2 separate regions of the Homo sapiens genome follow, and region 2 is linked to region 1. The links are contacts of gene promoters, found by promoter capture Hi-C in blood cells and fetal thymus (Javierre and others, 2016). All regions are on one chromosome and are shown on one strand. Each heading gives the region's core, a stretch centred on a gene start or on the middle of the fragment in contact. The rest is flanking DNA. Distances are from core to core; before and after follow the strand shown.

Region 1 (6,328 bases), core at 1,834-4,333:
AAAACCAAAAAAAACCCAAAAAAAACTAAAAGTAGTAAAAAAAAACAAAAAAAAAACTTTAACAAAAATAAACCTTATAATTCAATTTTACAGAATCAATCATTACAAAGTAAATCTATAGGTTACAGAATAAAACAATGGCATTAGGTGACAATTTGAAGCTAGAATTGATGAAACTGCTGCCAGTGAGTACCCATCTATTTCACCGTGTCATTTTCCTACACTTCTGTACCCTTGAAGTGAAGATAAACTGTTAATTTACACTGTCAGGGTGAGGGATGCCCCCTCTGAAGACATTAGCTGTCAATTTAGGAACAAAAGGAGAGGCAGATTTGGGTTGTTTTATTTATTTATTTATTTATTTATTTATTTTTATGACTCAGCTTCCAAGTTTAACTCTTCCCTTTTGGCATAGTGAATTTGGGGTCCTGAGCTTTTCTTTTCCTTTCACAACAGTAAGGAAAAATTTTTTAAAGATAAAAGTGTGTCCTGAAATCAGACAAGTTTAGGTTTTCTTTTGGAAATGATTCTTTCACCATTTTTCATGTTTTATGATGAAAGTGAAGTTATTTTGGAAAAGAAATACATTATTTTTTGTATTCTTTGAAGTTCTCTGAACGTGTTTCTATATTTTTAAAGGCACCTGATCAAATTTCTCTAAGAGTTTGGCCCATAAGGAAAACAGATTAGTAGAAACCTTATGAAGCTGAAGGAAAACAAGTGAATTATTTATTATTCCACTTTTTCTAATTTCGTTGTATGTTCAGAACCACCACAATGCTTATCGTGTTATTATCAGAAGACTATACGTCATAAAACAGAAATGAAAGGACCGTTCTTATGAAAAACACTGAAGAAAGAGAAGAGGGACGTTAGAAAACATTGCCAAAGATGTGGGAGGGCCAGAAATATTACAAATACTAAAAACGGATGAGGAGAGAAGGTAACAGCATGGGCTTCTGCAGCTGTAGCGTTTAATGCTGGAAACTCCAGGCGCTCCGAAGCCCCACGGCTGAGCCTGTCTCAGCATGTTTCTCTTTTGAGTCTGTGTGCTGGCAAGGCATTTCCTCGGCTGGTTGCTATAGAAATAATTATACTACACAACTTTGAGAAGCAGAAGCAGACGGAAGTTACAGCAGAAACACTGTCATCTTGGTGTTGTTCTAATAGCCTTAGGATTCGAAAATGAGGCAAAATTAAAAACAAAAAGCACCATTATTTAAATTGAAAATTTAGAAATGTGGGTTATTGTTCAAGTATTCAAAGTCAGCACTACAGAACAGTTAAGTGAGTGTTCTTACACCGAAGTCCTCAGAGCCACTTGGCAAATGCTAGAGAAAACAGGAAGTAAGGACCTCTGTCAAGCAGAAGAATGTCTGATTTTAATCAGGAAATTGAGGATAAGTTTATTTTTGAAGGGATGATATCATCCGGTGAATGGCCTCTTTTGTTTGTAGTATATGCTGGAATGTCACCACCTTGGGAAAAAGTATTCAAAAATTCATAGCCTTTTTTTTTTACTAACACCATATTCACTTTGATTCTTTCTTTTAAATTTTATTTCTTGTGAGATTTATCAACTATGTGTGATTGCATATGCATATTTGTATGTGCAGATATAGACATATAGATATGTCTTTCAATTTTCTCTGTTCTCTTCCGTCTATTTTTTGATCTTTCTCGTTCCCGGTACCACAGTATCTTAATTTCTAAAGTTTTGTAATGAATTTTGATGTCTGAAAGGGCAATCCCAACATCCTTTTCTTCATGTCGCCAAGAAGCTAACAATTTTCCATTAGGAAACAGCCAGCCACATTTCCCAGTTTTGGCATGGTAACATACTGAAGACTCCTGTGATAGTAATTGTAGCTTTTTAGTCATTACAAAGTAAAAGATGACAGAGTTAAGAAAGGACTTAAACTGCAAGACCATTCATTAGTTCTACAATGGGTATCAATTTTCATTTGACTCATCTGATGTTGACTACTTAGAATTCCAGCTTTTAAACAAAAGCTAAGTTTAATCTGTCTATCTACCCAAGTTAATCATTCTGTATTAAGTATTCCTGTCTATTTTAGTTTATCTCAAGGATTTCAAATAATTCAACCAATTAACAATCTAGGATAAAGGGATAACTATAATAATATTTGCATTTTGAGAATCAATAATAATTGATTCTCGAAGGTCTACTTCAAGTTTAATAAATGGAATAAATTAAATATATCAAATGGACAATTCCAAAAAACTTTTATTTACATAAAAATTTTAACAACCATTCAAAACTGAATATAGTAAATGTTAAATGAACAAGATAGCTGTTTGGAGAACGTGATTTCTACTAAGAGATAGAGGTCATCGAGAAAGGTTACTGTAAGCCTTAAAACATGAAATAGCACTCACATAGAGAAGGTGCCAAAGGGTATTCCAGAGACGAGAAGCATCATTACCCAAGATAAAGAGACTAGAATATGCATAGTGGACTCCCTGGTTGTAATTCAAATTATAAGTGGATTATTTTTAAAATGTATACAACTGTATGCACAGAAATCTCTGCTGTGTATGCTTGTGGCATTGCAGCTTCCTTCTGTGGGTCTGAGAATTGGTGCAGGTTTTTAAACTGGGTCAAGAAGTAATATTCCGTGGGCATTGATGACATGAGGCTTCCAATTGCTCATCCAGTTTTAATCATCCTTGATTATGTATAGCCAACCACGCTCTTGTTGTCTATCCATCTATTTTTTCTCGATAAACACCTTGGGATATCAGCCATCACCATAGATCTCTAGTGGTTGACTATATTGCACTTGACCCCTGATATTCTGGAATATAATCATTTCCATTGACACTAGGGAGCCCAGTTCTCTAACAGTATTGCCTACTGTCAACTTCGGTCCAGCTATCACTAAGCTTCTCAAATATGCCAATCCCTCCATCAATAGCACATTCCTTATCAGCTTTGTGATGAGAATGTTCTCTGGCCCTTCAATGAACATAATCAGCTGGTAGTCTCTCTGGTGTTACACAATAGAATCATTCTAGCATGCTCACTTCTCTGAGCCTTTTGAGCCCTTCCTCAAAACTCTGCTAAAGCAGTTCTGTCATCTCTGCTTAATTTAATGTGAGCCTTTTTCTTCCCCCTACAGAACTTTTAGTAACCATCCAAGCAGCGTATTAGAACCATTCCCAGGTGCTCTTGTTAGGGAGTTTTCAGTCATGGAAGAATGTTCCCTTGTTGACAAATGTTCCTTTATCAAGCTTCTCTCTCACTATCCCCAGCTCTCACCCCAATCCAGCGCTATCAAGATATACTTCCTGGCATGCTGTCCTGATTCCTTTTGCTGCAAATTAATCACGTCTTGATGTTCTTTTGGAGAGTAATTTTTTCCCTTCCCTGGTTGGCCCATGCTGAGACTTAGATACAGAACTAGAAGACAGGAGAGAAAGTGAAGTCAGATCTTGATAAGGACAAATATCATCGTCAAAGGCATCCATCTCGGTTGAGGTTTTGGTGTGGCCTTCAAGCAAGAGAAAGCTGCTATGTTCCAGCAAAACTAAATAAGCCACTCTTATATGCCCAGGGGTTCAAAGGAATCTGCGAGTTCTATAATTTTGAGCACATCCACCTACAATTCTCTGCACCATCTCTATCAGGGTTCTGACTTAGCATAAAACCTTGCCAAGGCTATTAACTCATCTTTTGTTGTATTTCTACTACTTTTATAGTAAAGTTTATCATCCAGTCTTCCTTTCAATCTGTCTTCTAGCTATAGAAAGCATGGGTTTCTTTAAATGCTGCCCTGGAGTCCTCCAATCTTTCATACCATGCCCCTGGTTAGTAACGGACAAACCTGAGCTTGTCAATTTTCTTCTTCGGCACAATGACACTTAGCAACAACCAACCAATTTCCAAATCTTATAATTAATAAATCCCCCCATAGCTCTGAAATGCATGTGTAGTCTCCTTTCATCTGTATCCCATGCCAACTCACCACTGGCAAAAGTTATGCAATGACAGTGCTAGAGTTTTCAGTTTTTAACAGTTTAATCTCCAACAGTGTGATCCAGTTGTTATCCAGATGGCAAGTGATCTAACTCAGAATCCCTTCCTAAGTGTATGCTTCCTAGGACCACTTCTGAAATAACCTATTTTCAAGTTGCGTTTCTTCATTAGTTTCCTAGGGTTGCTATAAGAAAGTACCACAAACTTGCTGGCATATAACAACAGAAATTTAGTCTCTCACACTTCTGGAGGATAGAAGTTCCAAATTAAGGTCTCGGTAGGGTTGATTTCCTCTGGGTGCTCCAAACGAAATTATGTCCTGTGCTTCTCTCCTGCCTTCTGGTGGTTTGCTGGCAATCTTTGCCATTGCTTGGCTTATAGATGCACCATTCCAATATTTACATCTGGTTTCACATGGCACTCTCCTTTTTGTGTCCTTGTGGTCAGATAACATTCTCCCTGAGTGTCTCTATCTCTGTGTCCAAGTTTCCCTCTTCTTATAATGGCACCATTCATATTGGATTTAGGGCCCACTCTAACATAGTGTCATTATCTCACCCTACCTTAATTACATCTACAATGATTGCATTTCCAAATAAGGTCATATTTACAGGTTAGGACCTTAAGATATATTTTTAAAGGACACAATTCAACCCATAACAGCATTCGAAAGACAAATCTTATGATGAAAATTTGTGTGTAACTTATGTATTAGAGTATATTCCCAAGAAATTACAGAGAAATGGGAATAATAACAGAAGAAGACCAATAAAGGATGCATTATCAAGCAATTTCCAATGAAGTACATCTTTTGTTCAAGCCTGCCATGCATTTCTGGGCACAGTATAGATCTCAACTCTGAATTGGTCAATAGAGGTAAAGTCTTACCTGTGCACCTACCAGTCATTGATTTAGAGCTATGACTGAGGGAATGTAAATTTCCAGGCATATTTAGTTCCCTTTTGTGCAGATAAAGTGGTTGTGACAGCCTGAATTGCAGGTCCCTCACCCAGATTCATAAGTTAAGGTCCTAACCCACAGTACATCAGAATGTGACTTGTTTTGGAGATAGGGCCTTTAAAGAGAAATGGCCTCTCTCCTTGCCATACCACGTGAGAGAGTTTTCTCAGAAAAACCAAACCTGCTGATGCTTTAATCTTACATTTCTGGCTTCTGGACCTTGAGAAAATAAATGTTTATTGTTTAAGACACCCAGTCTTAAAGACACCCCTAGCAAACTAATACAGCAGCCACTGATAATCACAGGGTGCTGTCTCATGGGACTGAGAGCACACTGAGGCAGCTATGAATGTAGTGAAAGAGCCATCAGAGGGAAGAGCACCCATGGTGTCTTCTCTGGCCCTAAGCCTTCATTGCCAGGAAACCATTTGCAGAACACCTGATTTCTGTCCTCACAATTTTAGCTTTTGCTCCATTAGACATCCTGTTTTTTCCAGAAAAGGAACCTGAAATTGCCACTCATACTTGGTCAATGTAGGCTGCTCTAAAAAGTTTACCCAGGATAGCTTTTATATAATAGAGTATCAACTATGGACCCGGGAAGATCATTTGGATACATCTTGACGTTTCTCCACCTGCTGATAAAAGTGAATGAGTAAATACAGCAGCTGTAGTAGGATGAGGGCAGGGTACCAAGAGCACAGTTCCTTCAAGGCTGAGGAAATGTGTCCCCCACAGAATGATCAATTTAGACCACCAGGTACAACATTAACCGAGGATAAGGAAAGTCTAGGATACTGGAAGAATAAAAAGAACACTTAGTTGATTGATTACTATTAAAGCCTCTGCTTAGTTTAATATATATTAAATTCTGTTTTCTTAACTGCACACACAGGGATTTCCATCACAGTCCTAAAAAACAAAATGCATAGCCAACTTTGAGAATTGTTGTCTATATGTAAGAAAAAAATGCAGTAAACAATCACACAAGTGGCAGAACCTCTTTGCTTCCATAAAGGACTAATAATAAGACCCATATTTTAGTCTACTTTGTTAAATCTGATTGTACATAATTTTATATTTCCAAATCTAATTAATATAATGACTCATTGAATGACATTCTACCATATAGTAAAATGTTAAAGTTGATCTTACTTTTTTCGCTCCTCATCTCTATTGTTTGTATGATTTTTTTTTTTTTTTTTTTGAGACGGCATCTTGCTCCGTCACACATGCTGGAGTGCAGAGGCACGACCTTGGCTCACTGCAACCTCCGCCTGCTGGGTTCAAGCAATTCTCCTGCCTCAGCCTCCCGAGTAGCTGGGATTACAGGTGCATGCCACCACGCCTGGCTAATTTTTGTATTTT
Region 2 (6,328 bases), core at 1,501-4,000, 1.2 Mb after region 1:
CCTGATTAACAAATGAGACTTTTTCATAACTTAAAAGAGGGAAAGGAATTAAAGATAAAAAGATAAAAATGGTCAAATGCAACTTAGTGACTGAACCTGAGACCCAGGAAAACATTTAGGACCAGAATGACATAGTTATTAGATAACACCAAGAAAATGCACAATGAAAAGTACAAGTAGGAGAAGCTACACTATAGTTAAATACTCATTAAAACTGCTTTTTACGAAAACAGACATGAAAAACAATCAAAAGCAAATGTTTGTGCACAACCTTAGGGTAAGAATACACAAGACGCAGACATCTATTTGGAATAGTGCAGCTTTTTATTTTTATTCTGGTTTACCTATTGATAATGGGAGCAAACTTGGGAAAGTCTTCCCAAATGTTGCTTCAGGTTTTCATTCTGAAAAACCTCTCAACCTAAGTGGGGGAAAGGAGAGCACTTAATTTAAAATATTCTTCCTTATTCTCCCTTACTGAGCTGTGTTGCCCTTCACCAATATTTATCATAATTTGTATTTACTTATCTTTCTGCTTTCTTTTTGCCCATATCACCTAGAAACTATAAACTCCGTGAAGGGAGAGTCAGCTCTTTTGAACACGGTATACCTATGAACACAGGGCCTTGCACACGGAAGGTGCTTATTAAATATTTGTAGAATAAGCAAAGAAAGAAAGAGGAAAGGAAAAGGAGATCACAGGTTACCAAAAACAGATGACTTTGCTTTCCCAATCAATGTCGGGAAATTAATCACTTATTGAACACTTACTATGACCTAGGCCATTTATGCATAATCATATAGTTTCGCCTCCCAACAATCCTGACAAATTTGCATTTGAGACCAAAGTAAGGCTCAGAGAAATTAAATATTATACAACTCACTCAAGCCGCACACCTAGTAAATTTGAGCTCCATAACTTTTGTGAATATTAGGTTTATCTGAGTGATGCTGGCCCCTAATATGCCCCTGTTGTCAATGATTTTCTCTCCATACAGCTATGGAGACAGGGAGAGAGATTCACAGCAAAGAGCAAATTAGTAGTTTTTTGTTTTTGTTTTTTGAGACGGAGTCTTGCTCTGTCGCCCAGGAGTGCAGTGATGTGATCTCAGCTCACTGCAACCACCGCCTCCAGGGTTCAAGCGATTCCCCTGCCTCAGCCTCCCGAGTAGCTGGGATTACCGGCACCCGTCACCACGTCGGCTAATTTTTGTATTTTTAGCAGATTGGGAGTTTCGCCATGTTGGCCAGGTCGTTCTCGAACTTCTGACCTCAGGTGATCCGCCCACCACCTCGGCCTCCCAAAGTGCTGAGATTACAAGCGCCCGCCACCACGCCCGGCTAATTTTTGTATTTTTAGTACAGATGGAGTTTCGCCATGTTGACCAGGTCGTTCTCGAACTCCTGACCTCAGGTGATCCACCCGCTTCGGCCTCCCAAAGTGCTGGGATTACAGCACTTTGAGCCACGGCGCCCGGCCTGCAAATTAGTACTTATATACAACCCAAGTCCTCTGGCTATCTAGACAGTCTGAATTTTTTAGCAGGACTTTACAGAAGTCCTGCTAAAGATAAACAGCAAAACAAGTATTTTTACATTAACCAAATATTTTTATCTTCAAAACAATTGTTACAAAACAGAAATTTCACACAATACTAGTGAGGACAGCCTAAGACAGCTTAATCATTCACATTTCCTCTATGGGCTTGGGGTTTTTGGAAAAAAAAATCGTAGCTGCATAAACTTGGTGTAAAATTTGAAAAAGCCACTCATGCCACAATCCTCGTTTCCCTCTGCTAATGTGATCCAGATGGGAACGCTGAACGACGTAACTGCCCCATCTGCACCTTAGATTTCATTAGGGTCCTGTTCACTCTGTGCAATTAGTTAAGTGTGCTGACCATCAAATATTTACCAGGAGACAACATGTCCAGGTCAAAGAAAGGGCGTGAGAATAACATTTTAGAAAGAGTTGCACTGCAGCCAAGACTAACTCTGGGCTGCGGTCCACACTCGCCCCAGCCGACTCCTCTCATTTCCTCTCTCCCCTCTCCAGTGAGCCATTCCTTCCTGGAGTCAAAGACGGTGCAACAGGCAGGTTCCTACCTTGGTCTGCACACTTTTATCGAACTTGTCATTTTTGAAGCTAAACGTATTCTGGTGCTTCTGAGGTCTGGAACGAGCCACGTTGCCTTTCTGGGAGCTCATCGCCGAAATCAAAGCCACCCCTCGCCGGGAGCAGGCAAAAGGATGAGGGGAAAGAAAACCAACGAACTACTCCCAGGAATTGACGCTTCTGTCAATGACCCGGAAGAAACAAACGCAGCCTTTCCGCCCCGGCTCTGGGTCAGCCCACGTGACTCTTCTGGGAGGTCAAAGAGCATCGCTCTGCCCTCCCTGCTGTTAAGCCAAGCCACTCCACGCGGCGCAGCCTCGACCCCTCCGGCTCCGCGCAGCCTCTTTCTCAAACCCGGAGAACAAGTCCCACTTTCTTCGAAATGAGAATTCCCCCATTGGCCCGAATGTGTAGTCCATCAAATCAAAGGGGCGGGGAACCTTTGTTCCTATTGGTTCTTCTTTTCCGCAATCCCCGCCTCCTGCTGAGCGAGCTCAGCCTCTCCTTGAGCTCAGAGCGCCTCCCACCCTGCCGGGCGGCCTCTGATTGGTGGAAGTGAGGCAAGGCTGGGCTCCGTCTCTCCCCCCGCCCGCTAGTAGGCTGGAGCCGGGGTCAGCTTTGGCACCTTCCTCCAGTCAGTGGCCAACTCCTGGCTCAGTGGGGATTGTGCTCGTCCCCTCCGTTCCCCTCCAGTCTTCCTCCCGCTACCGGAACGAGCCTCGCGCTTGGCAGGCTGAGGAGGAGCAAAGAAAGCAGGATTAAAGAGAAGGAAGACCTGGCTAGGTCTGGGTGGCGTCTGCAGTGCCAGAAAGGGAGGCGGTGGCGGCGGCGGCTGCGACCACGGCCGCGCGGGACGTGAGGCCCGAGAGCAACCGACGGGCAGCGGCGGCCGCTCCAGCGCCCCGCACCGGGGCCGTTAGTCAGCAGAACGCGAGCTCTTGTGGAGGAGCAGGGCCGGCGCGAGGCGAGACTCGGGAGCGTGAGCGGGGCCCCTGGGGCGCCGCCGTCCTTCTTCGCCCCGGCGCCGGGGGCTGTAGCCCTGGTCCCCGCTCCTCTGTCGGGCCAGTCTGCAGGCGGAGAGAGTCGGACGGCGCCCGGAGCGCGGATCTCGCCTTGTGGAGGACAGCGCGTCGGCTGCGGTTCTCTCTCGACCCCTTCTGCCCGGCGCTTCGGCCCGGGCCGCTCAGGTGCAGGTGCGTGCGGCCTCGGGGTTTGGGGACGCCGCAGCCCGGCTCGGGGAGGGGGCGCTAGGCCGGGAGCCGCAGCGCGGGAGGGACGAGCCCGGGCCGGCGGGGGGAGGGGAGCGGGAAGCGTCTTTGTTGTTGGCGACCGGGATCCCTTCTCGGCACAGGGGAAAGGCGGGGAAGCCACTCCTCATCGGGTCTGTGTTTTTGAGAGGATTCTCTGATGGTTGCGTGAAGGGGAGCGGTAGGACAGTCCCTGCGGTCCGTGGAGCGGCCGGAGTCAGGGGGTGGGGGAGGGAGGACCGACCGACACTCTAAGAAGGTCTTTGGTCCTCCTCGGTGAAGAGAAGGGTTCCATTTCATTTCCTTTGCTTTTCTCTCAGTGGATGAAAAGATGGGGTCAGGTTCCCATTCCCCTCACTGGCGCACTGAGAGATTCGCGGGTGCCTAAAAGCTTTCTCCTGAATGTCCTTATATCTCTGTCGGGCGCGATTTTAGATTGAATCTGCACGGGGCTTGGCGATTTGTGTATTCCGGTGGGGCTGTCGTAGGGTTCTTTTTCTTTAGATGGTTGGGCTTTAATCTTATTTGTTTTCGAACTCTAAGGTAGGCTTATCAGGAATCGTTTTTGAATTGGAAAATTTAAAGGTTTTGTTTGGGATTTTTTTTAACCCCGAAACAAAGTTATGTCAAATTAGATTGTACTGTGTGGGGGCTCTCGTGAAGGAAAGAGTGTATTTAACCTGGGGTTTTTGTTTAAAAAAAAAAAAAGTTCAGATCTTTGATCTTTGGTGAGATCTCTGCCAATGCCAGAAGAGAATTTTTTGTAAATGATGCTTTAAGTCAGTGTGAAGTAGATTTGGTAAGCAAAAGGATGAATAACGGAATACAGAGGGTGACCTTTAAATTTCGCTGTTTATGAAATGTGTTCCTGTTTAATACTTTTTGTGATATATGATGCTTGATCTATAGATGATTCATTTGGAATTTTTTTATGCCTCTAATAAATCTTTGGAGATCTTGTGCCAACATATGAAACTATAATACCTAATGAGTCGGAGTAGAAAGCCAGATACATGTTGTAATAACGTTAATCTGTTTAGATTAACAGGGAAATTTACATTAAAATGAACTTTTTTCCGTAAAGAGTTTCTCTACATATGTTTATAGCATGAATTTCAGTTGGGTGACATCTAATGATAGCCAGTATTTTGAAAATTGTCATGATTGCTAGTATTCTAATTTGAGACTGCTCAACTTGTTGGTAAGTTTTTATTTGGAGAATAGGGGTCGTGTTACTTAAGGAACAGCAGAGGTAAAAATCTCTGTTGTGCAGTAATTGTCATATCATTTGAAATCCAGAAGGAAATGAATGGCACCTTCACCTATATTTTGACCTCTCTTTTCTCCTACTCTAGTGTTAATAAGGTTAATTGGCAAGGACAGGATTAGATTTTTAGCAGGCTAGGCAGTTTTAATTTTGTCCCTTAGTGTGCAGTATTCTAGTTGATGAGTAGCTTGTTTCCTTGAGTATCTTTGCCCATTTTGAAATGTTTATGAAATGACTGCTGACAAAGAATTTTCTGTTTCCTGGGACAAACAAAATCACCAAAAAACATCATGAAAAAATAATGTTTTTAGTAGCTTAATGAACACAGAAGAATTAAGCAATTAGTGTCTGTTCCAAGTTTGACACTGAATTGGTCTACAACTCCAGGCACGCTATCCCACATCTGAGTCAGTTTTCTCCATCTGTAATATAGGGCTGATAAAATGTGCCACCTGCTCACTTTATAAAAAGGGGAGTGAGAACCATGTAAGCAACAGTTACTCTGGTTATGTGACATTGATATAAGTTAAATGAGAATACTTTTTAATGCAGTGCTCTTACTTTGTTTTGATATTATGAATTTCAATCATTTGATGAACAGTTAGCATAAAGATAAGGAGAATGACTCTCCCTATGCCATCATTTAAGAATTAAAATTTCTTCCGTATTAAGATTGGTGTTAAGATCTTTAGAAGCAGTGATGACAAGAAAATAGAGTATATTTTATTGGTTGGTTTATTTACTGGTAGATTTTACTTCTGATTTATCCAAAGTTTTGCTCTTAATTCTGAAAATTCCCCCTACCCTTCCTACTCTTTAAAATTTCTCACATACATTGCCCCATTTGCCTGTCGAATCCAGCCTTGTGAGTTGGAGAGAGGGAAGGTGAGTTTGTGGCCTTTTTTTTTTTTTTTTTTTTTGAGACGGAGTTTTGCTCTTGTTGCCCAGGCTGGCGTGCAATGGCGCGATCTCGGCTCACTGCAACCTCTGCTTCCCGGGTTCAAGTGATTCTTCTGCCTCAGCCTCCTGAGTAGCTGGGATTACGGGCACCCGCCACCACTCCCGGCTAATTTTTTGTATTTTTAGTAGAGATGGGGTTTCACCACGTTGGCCATGCTGGTCTTCAACTCCTGACCTCAGGTGATCCACCCGCCTTGGCCTCCCAAAGTGCTAGGATTACAGGTGTGAGCCACTTCACTGTTTGTGGAATTTTTACAGATGAAATAAATAAAGCCCAGATAAGTTAATTATTTCAATTGCCTAAAGCTAAGCAATTAGTAAGAAGTAGAATTGAGGCTTGAACTTGGGTCTTCTCTAGTCCTGAATCCTTTGCTTTGGAGCAGTGTTTTCCAAACACCTGTTCATGCCCAAGAGTTTTGTCCAAGTGAAGTGAGAACTAACATAGCAATATAAATGTTGGTGCCATACAATATAATGAATATCCATGTACCCATCACCCAGTTAAACAAACAAAACTACCAATTAAAACGAAGTGTCCGGCCAGGCTCGGTGGCTCACGCCTGTAATCCCAGCACTTTGGGAGGGAGGCCGAGGCAGGCGGATCACCTGGGGTCGGGAGTTAGAGACCAGCCTGACCAACATGGAGAAACCCCGTCTCTACTAAAAATACAAAATTAGCCGGGTGTGGTGGTGCTTGCCTGTAATCCCAGCCACTCGGGAGGCTGAGGCAGGAGAATC

The links. Contacts are between HindIII fragments. The CHiCAGO score rates a contact against its expected background, and 5 or more counts as called.
Region 2: the fragment with the promoter of ABHD17B here is called in contact with a fragment that was not itself captured in region 1 in 1 of 17 cell types (fetal thymus); the score reaches 5.5 in fetal thymus.

The regions. Positions count from the first base shown.
Region 1 is chr9:73,127,190-73,133,517 of GRCh38, reverse strand. No RefSeq gene overlaps it. Among named protein-coding and RNA genes, the nearest start is that of ANXA1, 22 kb to the left of the region's middle. RefSeq lists an enhancer at 727-1,146. The HindIII fragment of the contact is 348 bases long and covers 2,910-3,257 here.
Region 2 is chr9:71,907,615-71,913,942 of GRCh38, reverse strand. ABHD17B (abhydrolase domain containing 17B, depalmitoylase) reads left to right here and starts at 2,750. Exons shown (of 4, transcript NM_001025780.3): 1 at 2,750-3,309. It overlaps C9orf85 (chromosome 9 open reading frame 85), which reads right to left and starts at 2,304. Exons shown (of 4, transcript NM_182505.5): 1 at 2,107-2,304. The coding sequence starts at 2,208. RefSeq lists enhancers at 2,037-2,096, 2,107-2,156, 2,227-2,536 and a silencer at 2,987-3,226. The HindIII fragment of the contact is 4,051 bases long and covers 1-3,756 here.